4 separate regions of the Homo sapiens genome follow, and regions 2, 3 and 4 are each linked to region 1. The links are contacts of gene promoters, found by promoter capture Hi-C in blood cells and fetal thymus (Javierre and others, 2016). All regions are on one chromosome and are shown on one strand. Each heading gives the region's core, a stretch centred on a gene start or on the middle of the fragment in contact. The rest is flanking DNA. Distances are from core to core; before and after follow the strand shown.

What was found. The method cuts DNA at HindIII sites, captures the fragments that hold promoters and counts their contacts. A CHiCAGO score of 5 or more calls a contact.
Region 2: a fragment that was not itself captured here is called in contact with the fragment with the promoter of APBB2 in region 1 in 7 of 17 cell types (M2 macrophages, endothelial precursors, M0 macrophages and 4 more); the score reaches 22.9 in M2 macrophages.
Region 3: a fragment that was not itself captured here is called in contact with the fragment with the promoter of APBB2 in region 1 in 1 of 17 cell types (endothelial precursors); the score reaches 9.4 in endothelial precursors.
Region 4: a contact is called between a fragment that was not itself captured here and the fragment with the promoter of APBB2 in region 1, in 1 of 17 cell types (endothelial precursors). The highest score is 6.0, in endothelial precursors.

The regions. Positions count from the first base shown.
Region 1 is chr4:41,213,251-41,215,828 of GRCh38, forward strand. APBB2 (amyloid beta precursor protein binding family B member 2) reads right to left here and starts at 1,292. Exons shown (of 18, transcript NM_004307.2): 1 at 1,155-1,292. RefSeq lists silencers at 667-976, 1,387-1,556. The HindIII fragment of the contact is 4,637 bases long and covers 1-2,578 here.
Region 2 is chr4:40,969,912-40,972,489 of GRCh38, forward strand. The region is part of intron 6 of APBB2 (amyloid beta precursor protein binding family B member 2); the gene reads right to left. Among named protein-coding and RNA genes, the nearest start is that of NSUN7, 220 kb to the left of the region's middle. The HindIII fragment of the contact is 2,943 bases long and covers 1-2,578 here.
Region 3 is chr4:41,028,010-41,030,587 of GRCh38, forward strand. All of the region lies in intron 5 of APBB2 (amyloid beta precursor protein binding family B member 2), which reads right to left. Among named protein-coding and RNA genes, the nearest start is that of APBB2, 190 kb to the right of the region's middle. The HindIII fragment of the contact is 1,866 bases long and covers 371-2,236 here.
Region 4 is chr4:41,079,797-41,082,374 of GRCh38, forward strand. All of the region lies in intron 3 of APBB2 (amyloid beta precursor protein binding family B member 2), which reads right to left. Among named protein-coding and RNA genes, the nearest start is that of APBB2, 130 kb to the right of the region's middle. The HindIII fragment of the contact is 1,067 bases long and covers 758-1,824 here.

The DNA.
Region 1 (2,578 bases), core at 42-2,541:
TCATTTTATGATAATCCTTTGGGTATTTCACGTAAGTAATTAGACACAATGTAAAGCCAGTGACTGAGGGACTTAAACAAACTGTCCCCTCCGAGAGCCCAGTTGGAGCTTCCGACACTGACCTTATTCTCCTCTCAATTTTAACCCTCCTCAACCACTCAATCCATCCAAAAACGTCTGTGACAGTCGTGGCTCTAAAACCGCGCAGAACTTGACTACAGAACGGTCGGTGACAACTCCACATATGATTTATCCAAATTAATTTATTTTTTTGAATTCTAGTCCCATGCTCCCTCGGCTGTTTGCCCCGAACCCGTAGTCTACACCACTTCACCGACGTGAAGACCACCTTTCATTGTTTCTATGGGTCTCAGCATCCTTCCCTCCGTCCAGCTCTGTTCTCGCCGCACAAATGTCATTTCTAGCGTACCACCCTCCATTCCGCCCGGTGGGCAGCGCAGGGGCTTTCGGGTCCCAGTGGCCAGTTTCCTGGAGTCGGTCCCCTATGCACAGCCATTTTCTAGTTAAACGCTCTCTCTGCCACCGAGGGGGAAAAGGAACTTTTCCCCCCTTTCATGTCTCATGGGCTGGCCTCTGAACCCCTCGTGGAGAAGCCAACCCCGGCTCCAACTCCCCGGCAGGAGCGCGCTGCCGCCCAGGAGAGACAGCCGAGCGGCACAGCGGAGGCCGGTGCCAGGACAAGGGGGTGTGCGCTCTTCCCGCAGGCGCCCACCCTCACTTTTCCCCTCTGCAGTCCCCACCCGGGCGCACCGCCTCCAACCCGGTCTCCCCCGCCCCAGGCCCTGCCAAGCCGGGGCTGCTGAGGGAAAGAGGGCGCCGGGAAGCGGGAGGGATGGAAGTCAAGGAGAGTGAGCCCGCAGTCGCCGTGCCACTGGCCCTGCGGCGCGGGCGCAGGGCGCACGGGACTCCGCAGCAGGCGCCCCGCTGCAGATGCCGCGGCAGCTGCTGCAGGTGTGGCTGCGGCTGAGCGGGCAGCAGTGGCCGCGGAGCCCCGGGGCCGGGAGCAGAGGAGAAGCCGCCGGGGGAACCCGCAGCCGCTCGCCGCACGCTGCTGCCGCTACCCGGGTGTTTCCCCAGCACTCTCGTGCTGCCCCGGAATCCGGGGCAAAGGCAAGGAAGAAAGCTGGGCTCACCAGTGGTGCGCGCGGCGCTCGCCTCGGCTCCGGCGCCCAGCGGCTCTGCTCCAGTCTCGCCCTTCCCGGAGCGCCCAGATCAGATGCGGTTACAGCGCACTAGCTTCCTACTTGAGACCAGAACGGGCTCCGGCAACTGAGCATGCTCAGTGCCGTTCCGCGAGTCCCGCGCAGGGAGCGGCGCTGACGAGATTCCACTTCTCCAGGCTTTGGCAGCGGCTGCGCGAGGGAAGGCTGGAGGGACCCGGCGGGGAGGGGGCCGAATGGGAGAAAGGCGGGGCCGGGGGGTGGGGGCCGGGCAGAAGGAGGCGGGCCGCGCTCCCAGGGCGACCCCTGCAGGTGGAGGCGGCAGGGCCTGCGGGAGGCACCCTCCCCAATCGCCTGGGAACACGCAGGGAGGCAATGGGTCCCCCAGTAAGACCCAAAGGCAGGACGTGCAGTGCAGCCCGGGTATCCCCTCCGTGTGGCTGGTGTCTGTCTGCACCAAAAGGCAGTTGGGTTACCTTAGCCCTGGCTTTTCTCCCACACGCCAGCATTCCCTTGCAATAGGAAAATGTCCCCACAGGAGAGCTGCCCACACCCACCCAGGCTAACTGCAAGTTGTAGGCGACACCTTCTCCTTCCTTCTACCTCCTATCCCCACCCCCAGGCATATGCCGCACACACACTCTTCTTTGATCCGGAAATCACAAGATAATATCAGGGGAGAGATACAACTGCCGGAGAGGAAAAGGAGGTTTTCCTTTCCATTGCCAATAATATTATCTATAACTCTAATTGTAAGCGTGCAAACAAAGCCCTGATAAGAGTCGAGTCTCAGTAAACGGTAAACCGTGCTCTGCCCCAGACGCTGTGAATGACATCCCCAAAGTATCCTTAGGATTGCTCTTCACCAGGGCAGCGGTTGTCAAACTGGAGCCTGGATCAGAATCGCCTGGAGGGTTTGCTGAAGTACAAATCCCTGAGTCCCAATCTGTGTCTCTGAATGGGTAGATATGTGGTGGGGCCCAAGCATCTGTATATCTAACAAGTTCCCATGGGATGCTGATGCTGCTGGTGTGAGGACTATACACTTTAGAGAACCCTACCCATACACACACACACACACAGTCCTACCAAGGATCTCGAATTAAAAACTCACGTGATTCTTCCTATGAGGACTCTATGCAGTGGGGTGGGCATTACTTTATTCTTTCCTACATGAGTTTATTAAGGATCCACGAGGTCTTGTACTAGGCCTGAGGATAGTGGTGAATTTAAAAGCCCAGGCCCCTGCTTTCATGGAATTTATAGTCCGGCCGGGTGACAGACACCTATCAAATAATCACTCAAAACGGTTATTTCAAACAGGTAGAGTGCTGGGAGGGAAATGCACAAGGTGCGAATAGAGTGTATAGAGGGACCCTCATGCAGACTCAGTGAGG
Region 2 (2,578 bases), core at 43-2,542, 240 kb before region 1:
TCTATATTCTTCACATATAATGATAACACATACTTAAGTGCTGTATAACAGCCCTGTAATTAGTCAGGGATTTTTCAAAACATATCCTGCCCTTACATGTATTGATATTACCCTAAACCTGCCTACGTCAGAGGGGATCCATCTTTTTTCTGCCCTCATCCTCATCCCTTCTACAGGATTGTTTTCTCATTAGGAAGCAACCGTTTATTCAAAGGAGATGGGGAAGAGGGATGAGGGCCCATTATCCTGGAAGTCCCTTAATCCTCCTACCCTCCCAAATCTTCTAAAAGTTGGACATCTTGGCATGACTATATAAATTAATTTGAAGATTATATGGGAACCACTAATTACTCCTTAATAAGGATCATGAATAAGTGAGAACTTGACTTAAACGTTTATGAACAAAATGAAAGACTTCCTTTCGCATGGCACTGCACTCGATGCCCCGTTTAGTATGGTTTCAATCTCATTTTTTTTCTCATTCTCCTCAGAATCAATTTCCTCATTTTTTCCAAGCATTGATTTTAGATTAACATTGCAACCTCTCCCCACTCCTCCTTTTTTTTTGAACCAAAGGCATTTAAACTAACTGCATTTGGGTTTTGTTTGTTTTAAGACTGAAGACAGCTTCATGCATCCATTCTACTTCAGCAATGGTCTTGCCAGTGAGACTAGAATGCTCTGACACCACGGGCTAGACTCAGAGTAGTTCTCCCGAGGGGTACTTCCTATCTCGGGACACATGAAAATGTATGGGAGTGATGGGTTCCCACAATGAGGCACCACTGGTAGGTAGAGGCCAGGCACACTAAGTGACCTGCAATGAGCAGGTCACGTTAGTTAAGGGTAACCCACTGCCCTCGTTTCCTGGAACCTGGCCAGTTTTAGCACTGCAAGTCCCACAAGCCAGGAAACCCCTCAGTCCCAGGCAAACCATCACCTTAAGTCCAGCAAAACCAAAGACTGTCCCTTCCCAAACATTGGAGGGCTTCCTCTCTCTCAGACAGTACATATACATTTGCCCCTATGTCTTCTAAGAATTCTCCAAGGTCCAATAACTAAACAGTCCCCTTCTGACTGTGCCATTTATTTACAGTTTATGTCTCAAGAGAAGAAGCATTTTCCTTCATACATACTTGTAACCTTAGAAGTTCCTAGTATGGGTGAACCTTCAAGCTCGCAATGATTCCTATACCAAGGCTATGAAACATCTTCTTATTGCTCAGTAGATTTCTACCGACTGATAAACTCCAGCAAAACATAACGGGGGCTATTAACACGATTCTTTCTTATGAGACTCGAACTCTAGGAGGAAGAAAAAAAATTAATCCTAAAATTTAAACATACTGAGAAACAAACCAGTGACTTTTTAAACCTGAATTCTCTTATCTTTCATCTCTTTCATTAATTTTTTTACAAGTAATTTCCTCCATTACTTTTAAGCTGAGAAGGCATGTTATAGTACTGACAAGTGCAAAAACTAAATTCTCTACTTATTCATTCGAATAAAGGACACAATAATTGAAGTGAGATCTCTAAGGATTACATTATACATCTTTATGCAGAAGCAGGAGGAGCTTTCTCTGGGAAAATGGTTATGTCAGCTGCTTTCCATTCTCTTTAAATTTTCCCATTCTGAGGCTATTAGATAACATAACCGCTCATGGCTTCTGCAATATTTTTCCCAGAAACGTTTTCCTTATATGGTCATCAAAGGAGCACTGATCTCTATTTAGCAATAGAACTTAAGAGGCCTGAAGGAGTTAATATCTCTAATTTAGTACTAGAAAATGTTTCAAAAGTAGAGAAAGAAAACCTATCATATATCCCCTTCTTTTGACACCTTTTGAGTCTTAATCTGACACCAGGTGGCAGATATTTTGCTTTAACATTAAAATTAGTGAAAGTAATCCCTTAAATTCTTGATCTACATTCAAACCATTGACTTATTAATAGGTATGAAAAGCCTATAGTGCATAATGAATCCTTTCATGTTCAGATTTGAGCTTCAACTTTAGCGCGTATCCTTACGGGACAATTAATTCATAAGAAGAGTGACCAGAGAAAACTAAAATATAATATTTGGTTTCAATCTCTAACATCGAACAAAAGTGCTCTCAACAAAAAATAAAATTCCCACAAATAAAAATCCACACTTAGATAAATTATAGACTATTTTTACTGCTCAATTTTATACAGGATTAATCCAACAATCCTTTAAAATAGCAAAATCCTGGCCGGCTGTGGTGGCTCATGCTTGTAATCCCAGCACTTTGGGAGGCCGAGGTGGGTGGATCACAGGGTCAGGAGATGGAGACCATCCTGGCTAACAAGGTGAAACCCCGTCTCCACTAAAAATACAAAAAATTAGCCAGGCGTGGTGGCGGGCGCCTGTAATCCCAGCTACTCGGGAGGCTGAGGCAGGAGAATGGCATGAACCCGGGAGGCAGAGCTTGCAGTGAGCCGAGATGGCGCCACTGCGCTCCAGCCTGGGTGACAGAGCGAGACTCCATCTCAAAAAAAAAAAAAATAATAATAAATAAATAAATAAAATAGCAAAATCCCTAATATATTTAAT
Region 3 (2,578 bases), core at 54-2,553, 190 kb before region 1:
CTGTCATTGCTCTCCTGCATGCATGATGAAGGAACATCTATTATAGCCTGGCACGTGTTTCCTCCTTTTCTGTTAAAAGCCTCGCAAATTTTCTAGGGGAATCAGCCTTCCCCTACACCCATTCAATCATTCAACAGATATTTTTTGTGCACTACTCCATGCCATATATGCTTCTAAGTGCTGAGGATATAGCAGTGAACAAAACCAACAAAGTAAAGATACCTATGGAGCGCAGAGCGCACACTCTAGGGATTAGGCCCATGTGTTTCAGGCAGAGATGATTGTACTCCTTATTTCAGGGGGCACATGGCCAAGGCACAGCCAATCACAGTAGCAAATCCCCAGGGCTCTAGTGGCTGGTTCAAGGAAAAGCTTATGACCCACATGAAGCCAACCATGAGACTTGCCAGAAGGTAAGAGTGGTGCTCTGTTTTCTCTTTTTCTTGAACTAGAAGATATAAGCCTAGAGCTTCAAGGGGTCACCATGAGGAGATAACCTGCCCAGCATGACTGTACCAAAGAAAGCGAAGCCAAGAGACAGAGAGAAAATGTGCAAGCCCTAATGACTGAATCCCTAAAATAAGACATGCCTGAAATATGATACTGCTGGACTTCTCAGGTCGATAGATTTATGTGTTTATTTTGCCTAAGCCACTTGGAGCTAGGTTTTCTCTGTTTTGCAACTAAAAGAGCCCTCGTTAATACACAAAGTATTTTTTATGAAACCTAAACAAAACTGGATAAGCCAGGATCACTCTAATTTCATGACTTGCCCAGCTTCTCTCGATCCCAGCCACAAAGGCCCCAGCACAGATACAACCAGGCCTACTGGCCCTGTAACTCGGACCACATCCTAATACAAACCTGTGCTGCATCCTGTGGTTAAACCTGGCTTTCCCCCTCCTCCTTTTCCCTTTTCTAAGACCTTTAGCCTTTTGTCAAAGAAAGAGTTTGTGAGTAATGACAAGAACTTCTCTCTTCAATAACCTGCTGCTCTCCCTTTACTCCCGCGACATGCTTATAAAATTGGAAACTGACAAACGGGCCCAGGGTTGATAAATGGGCCAAAGGAAGACCAATGTTTGCCCCATGCTTGAATGAAACTTCACATTTGCTTCATTTTTATTTTTCTGCTATACAATTTCATTTCCACTGAGGAGTTAATAGTGAAACCTACCCTGAGGAATGTCACTGTTTGAACTAGATTACAAAATATTAAGGAAATGAAATAAACTCTGATTTTTCTTTTCCTTTTAGGAGGGAGAAGCTAAATAAAGCTGGCTTCCCGAAACTACTCATGAAAGGAAACCTTCAATGTGACAAAAATGATAAGAACTCTGTGAACAAAAGAGGCAAAAGTTATCAATAAGGCAGCTTGGGTCACCGGGCCAGGGAGATGGGAGGATTTGAACCTCAGAATATTCTAACTAGGCGAGCAATGTCACACTGCTGATGCAGAGTGTCAGATACAATCAGATCTTACCCACTTGAGGGTTTCTTGTGTCCCATTAAACTTAACTGCCTGAGGACTCACTCTGTTCAATGTTTGAAGTGGAACTGAGATTTAAGACAGATGTATCACATACTTTTTAATAAACTCAATCTTAACGAGCTTGATTTAGCCATTCCACAATGTATACACATTTCAAAACAACATGTTGTACACAATAAACATATACATGTTTTATTTGTCGATTATAAAAAATAAGTAAGAAATGTTATTTTCTAAAAAAGAAAATCAGATTTGGCAGAAAATCAGATTACACAAACTCACAATGGCTGAAGTTGGCAGAGGGTCTTATGAGAACACCATGTTAGGGATGAGGAGAGAGGTTCAGGGAAGGCTTCCCACAAAAAGAAGAGCTGGCTGGGCGCGGTGGTTCATGCCTGTAATCCTAGCACTTTGGGAGGCTGAGGCAGGCGGATCACGAGGTCAGAAGATCAAGGCCATCCTGGCTAACACAGTGAAATCCCGTCTCTACTAAAAATACAAAAAATTAGCCGGGCATGGTGGCACATGCCTGTAGTCCCAGCTACTCGGGAGGCTGAGGCAGGAGAATCACTTGAACCCGGGGGGCGAAGGTTGCAGTGAGCTGAGGTCGCACCACCGCACTCCAGCCTGGGCGACAGAGCTAGACTCCATCTCAAAACAAAAAGAAGAGCTGAGCCGGATCTTGAAGGGTGGAAAGGAGCCCAGCAGTGGACAAGAAAGAAAAAGGCATTCCAGATGGGGGAAAGCTTGCCATTCCCAACATAACACCTGGCAGATGTGATGGTCAGTTATTTAGGAAGCACAAGCAGAATGTGTATATTCAAGTAAGAATTAAGACCTTTGGAGTAGTCAACTTTGGAAATTATATTCCAAGGTCATTTTCTCTGTTCAATTTCTTTTTTACTTTAAGGGACAGGGTCTCACTATGTTGCCCAGGCTGGAGTGCATTCACAGGCACAGTCATCATGCACTACAGCCTCAAATTCCTGGGCTCAAGCGATCCTCCTGCCGCCTCAGACTCCCAAGTAGCTGGAGCTACAGGTATGCACCACTACACCTAGCTCTCTTCCCTGCTCAATTTCTAAG
Region 4 (2,578 bases), core at 41-2,540, 130 kb before region 1:
TTGGCCTCCCAAAGTGCTGGGATTACAGGCGTAAACCACCGCGACCGGCCAGCTCACCTATTCTTTATATTAGTTTCTACCATTAGCCAACCCATTCAGAGTTCTAAACCACTAATTGACCTCACAACAACCTCACTTTGGAAATGTAAGCAGCTTGTGAATCGGGAGCTGCCACTGTTTGCGTGTGGCCAGAGACATGCTCAGATTCTTACTGTTGTGAATGGGCAGAAGAGTAGTGGGTGAGGAAGAACAATTTTCTTTGTCTTTCCACTGAAACACAGCTTTCAGAGAGACGAGGCAGTTTGAAAACCAGTGGTCAGGAACTACACGACTATGAAAATGCAAACCAAGGCATCCAAAGATTTACATTCAACTGTAGAAACATCAATATTGCTGAAAAGCTACACCCATCAATTCAGCATTCTGCAGCACATTTAGTTCCCAGTCTGAGAACACTGAACCTGGGCAATTTATCTGCATATGCCTCAGGCTAACCACACAAATTTTGCAGACAAAGCTAGAAGTTAAGATAGAGAGCTTAGAATGCACTGTTGATGTGACCAAAAGGGCTTCATAAAGGAATCAAATGCAGTAATGACATTAATAGAAATGTGGATGCAGAGAAAGAAAGTCTCTGTGGTGCCCCACTGTCTCTGAAAACTGAGGACGGCTTTCATGACAAAGAAGTAACCTTTTGTTAGCTGTACACAACAAGATCATACAAACCCGATAAAGAGGGCTTGCAAAATAAATGCAAAGCTTGATGCCTGCATATAATTTTCCCTCCTGTGGTGTTATTTCATAAAGACTTGTCAAGAGATCAATCCCTCAGTCACAAAAGTCAGGCTACACATCACCTTGGGGGACAATTATTTAATTTCAGTTGGTGATGTAAATGCTCCTTTTTTTTTTTTTTTTTTTTAAAGATGTTGTTTCACTCTTGTTGCCCAGGCTGGAGTGCAGTGGCATGATCTCTCCTCACCGCAACCTCCACCTCCCAGATTCAAGCAATTCTCCTGCCTCAGCCTCCCGAGTAGCTGGGACTACAGGTGCCTGCCACTACACCAGGCTAATTTTTGTATTTTTAGGAGAGTTTTTTTGTTTTAGGAGATGTTTTGTATTTAGGAGATATTTTTGTATTTTAGGAGTTTCACCATGTAGGCCAGGCTGGCCTGGAACTCCTGACCTCAGGTGATCCACCTGCCTCGGCCTGTAAATGCTACTTCAAATTTGACCAATTGCCAAACTACCTTTACCACACATTCTTCTACGTAGTCAGTTCTCTTGACGTATCTAATGGCCACTAAAACAAGAGTTTCATTCCACAGCTGTCCAAGTGAGTTACACTATGCTCACATGGTATTTTGAAGAGCTGAGATAAATTTATCTCAGTCAATCCCAGATTATTCCTCTCTTGCTTCATTTGAAGATCACACAACAGGACAGTGATTCTGCACAGCAGTGTGTGTGTGTCTGTGTGTGTGTATGTGTGTACGTGTGTACACATGTGTGAAACTGTACAATCTAATCACCACAGCTCTGCAAAGAACATGGCACAATTCTATTCAGGTTTCAGAAATGGAAAGACAAAAAGGGAAAAAAAATCCCAAGAAATCATTCTCAAAAGCTGTTTCCAGAATACCTTCTTGAGAAATTTAAAAGTAGGGTCCACTTTGTAATGCATGCGTATAAAGGAGGTAAATTCATAGCTAGCTAATCACCTTTAATGCTAGAACCATAAATGGCTATTTCCAAAATATATTCATTGTGTCAAATGCCTGAATTGATACTTAGTTATATAAAATTTTTTTTCCATCTCAACAAAGCTTTAAGACAGCCTCCAAACATTTATACACAGGGGTTTTACCTTGTCCAGTGAAGGTTCTACTTCCAACCAACACAAGTACCAGAATTTTAAACTTTTACTATAAAAATCTCTATGGGATTATATAATCTTTCAACCATCTTAACTTGAAATTTTTTTAACTAAACAAATATGACAAGACAGAATTAAAATTGCATTGATCATAGAATATCAACTGATAGTCAATGAAGTACTAAGGAAAGTATAAATTGGTGAAATATTGTCATTCGTTTAAAAAACTACAATTAAAAGCAAGTCAAATGAACTACCGATACTTTGACACCTACTACAAATACAGCAGATTGTAGTAGGTATAGAAAGGAAAAAGACTTGTGACACAGTTACTGGCAACAGGGAACTTAGTATATTGGAGGAACATGACACAGTATGTTGGAGGAACATGACACGGAACTCTAGACAAACATTGGATCACAGGACACACGTTTAGACTTAAAAGGAAGTTATGGATAGGTCAGGAGGGGCCATTTTCTGTCAGATAAACCTATTAGACACATTTTAAAAACGTAACATGGTATGTCCACACCTCATAACTTAAAAGAACACCAATCAACAATGCTCTCAAAGTAAATTACATGCTAAGAAACTTTAACCCTTATCTTTCCAACATCCCTCATCACACAGTACTTATTTTTGATAAGTTTGAGTCTCCCACTATGCAACAAAATATCAAACATCGGGGGGTGTCCTATTTAA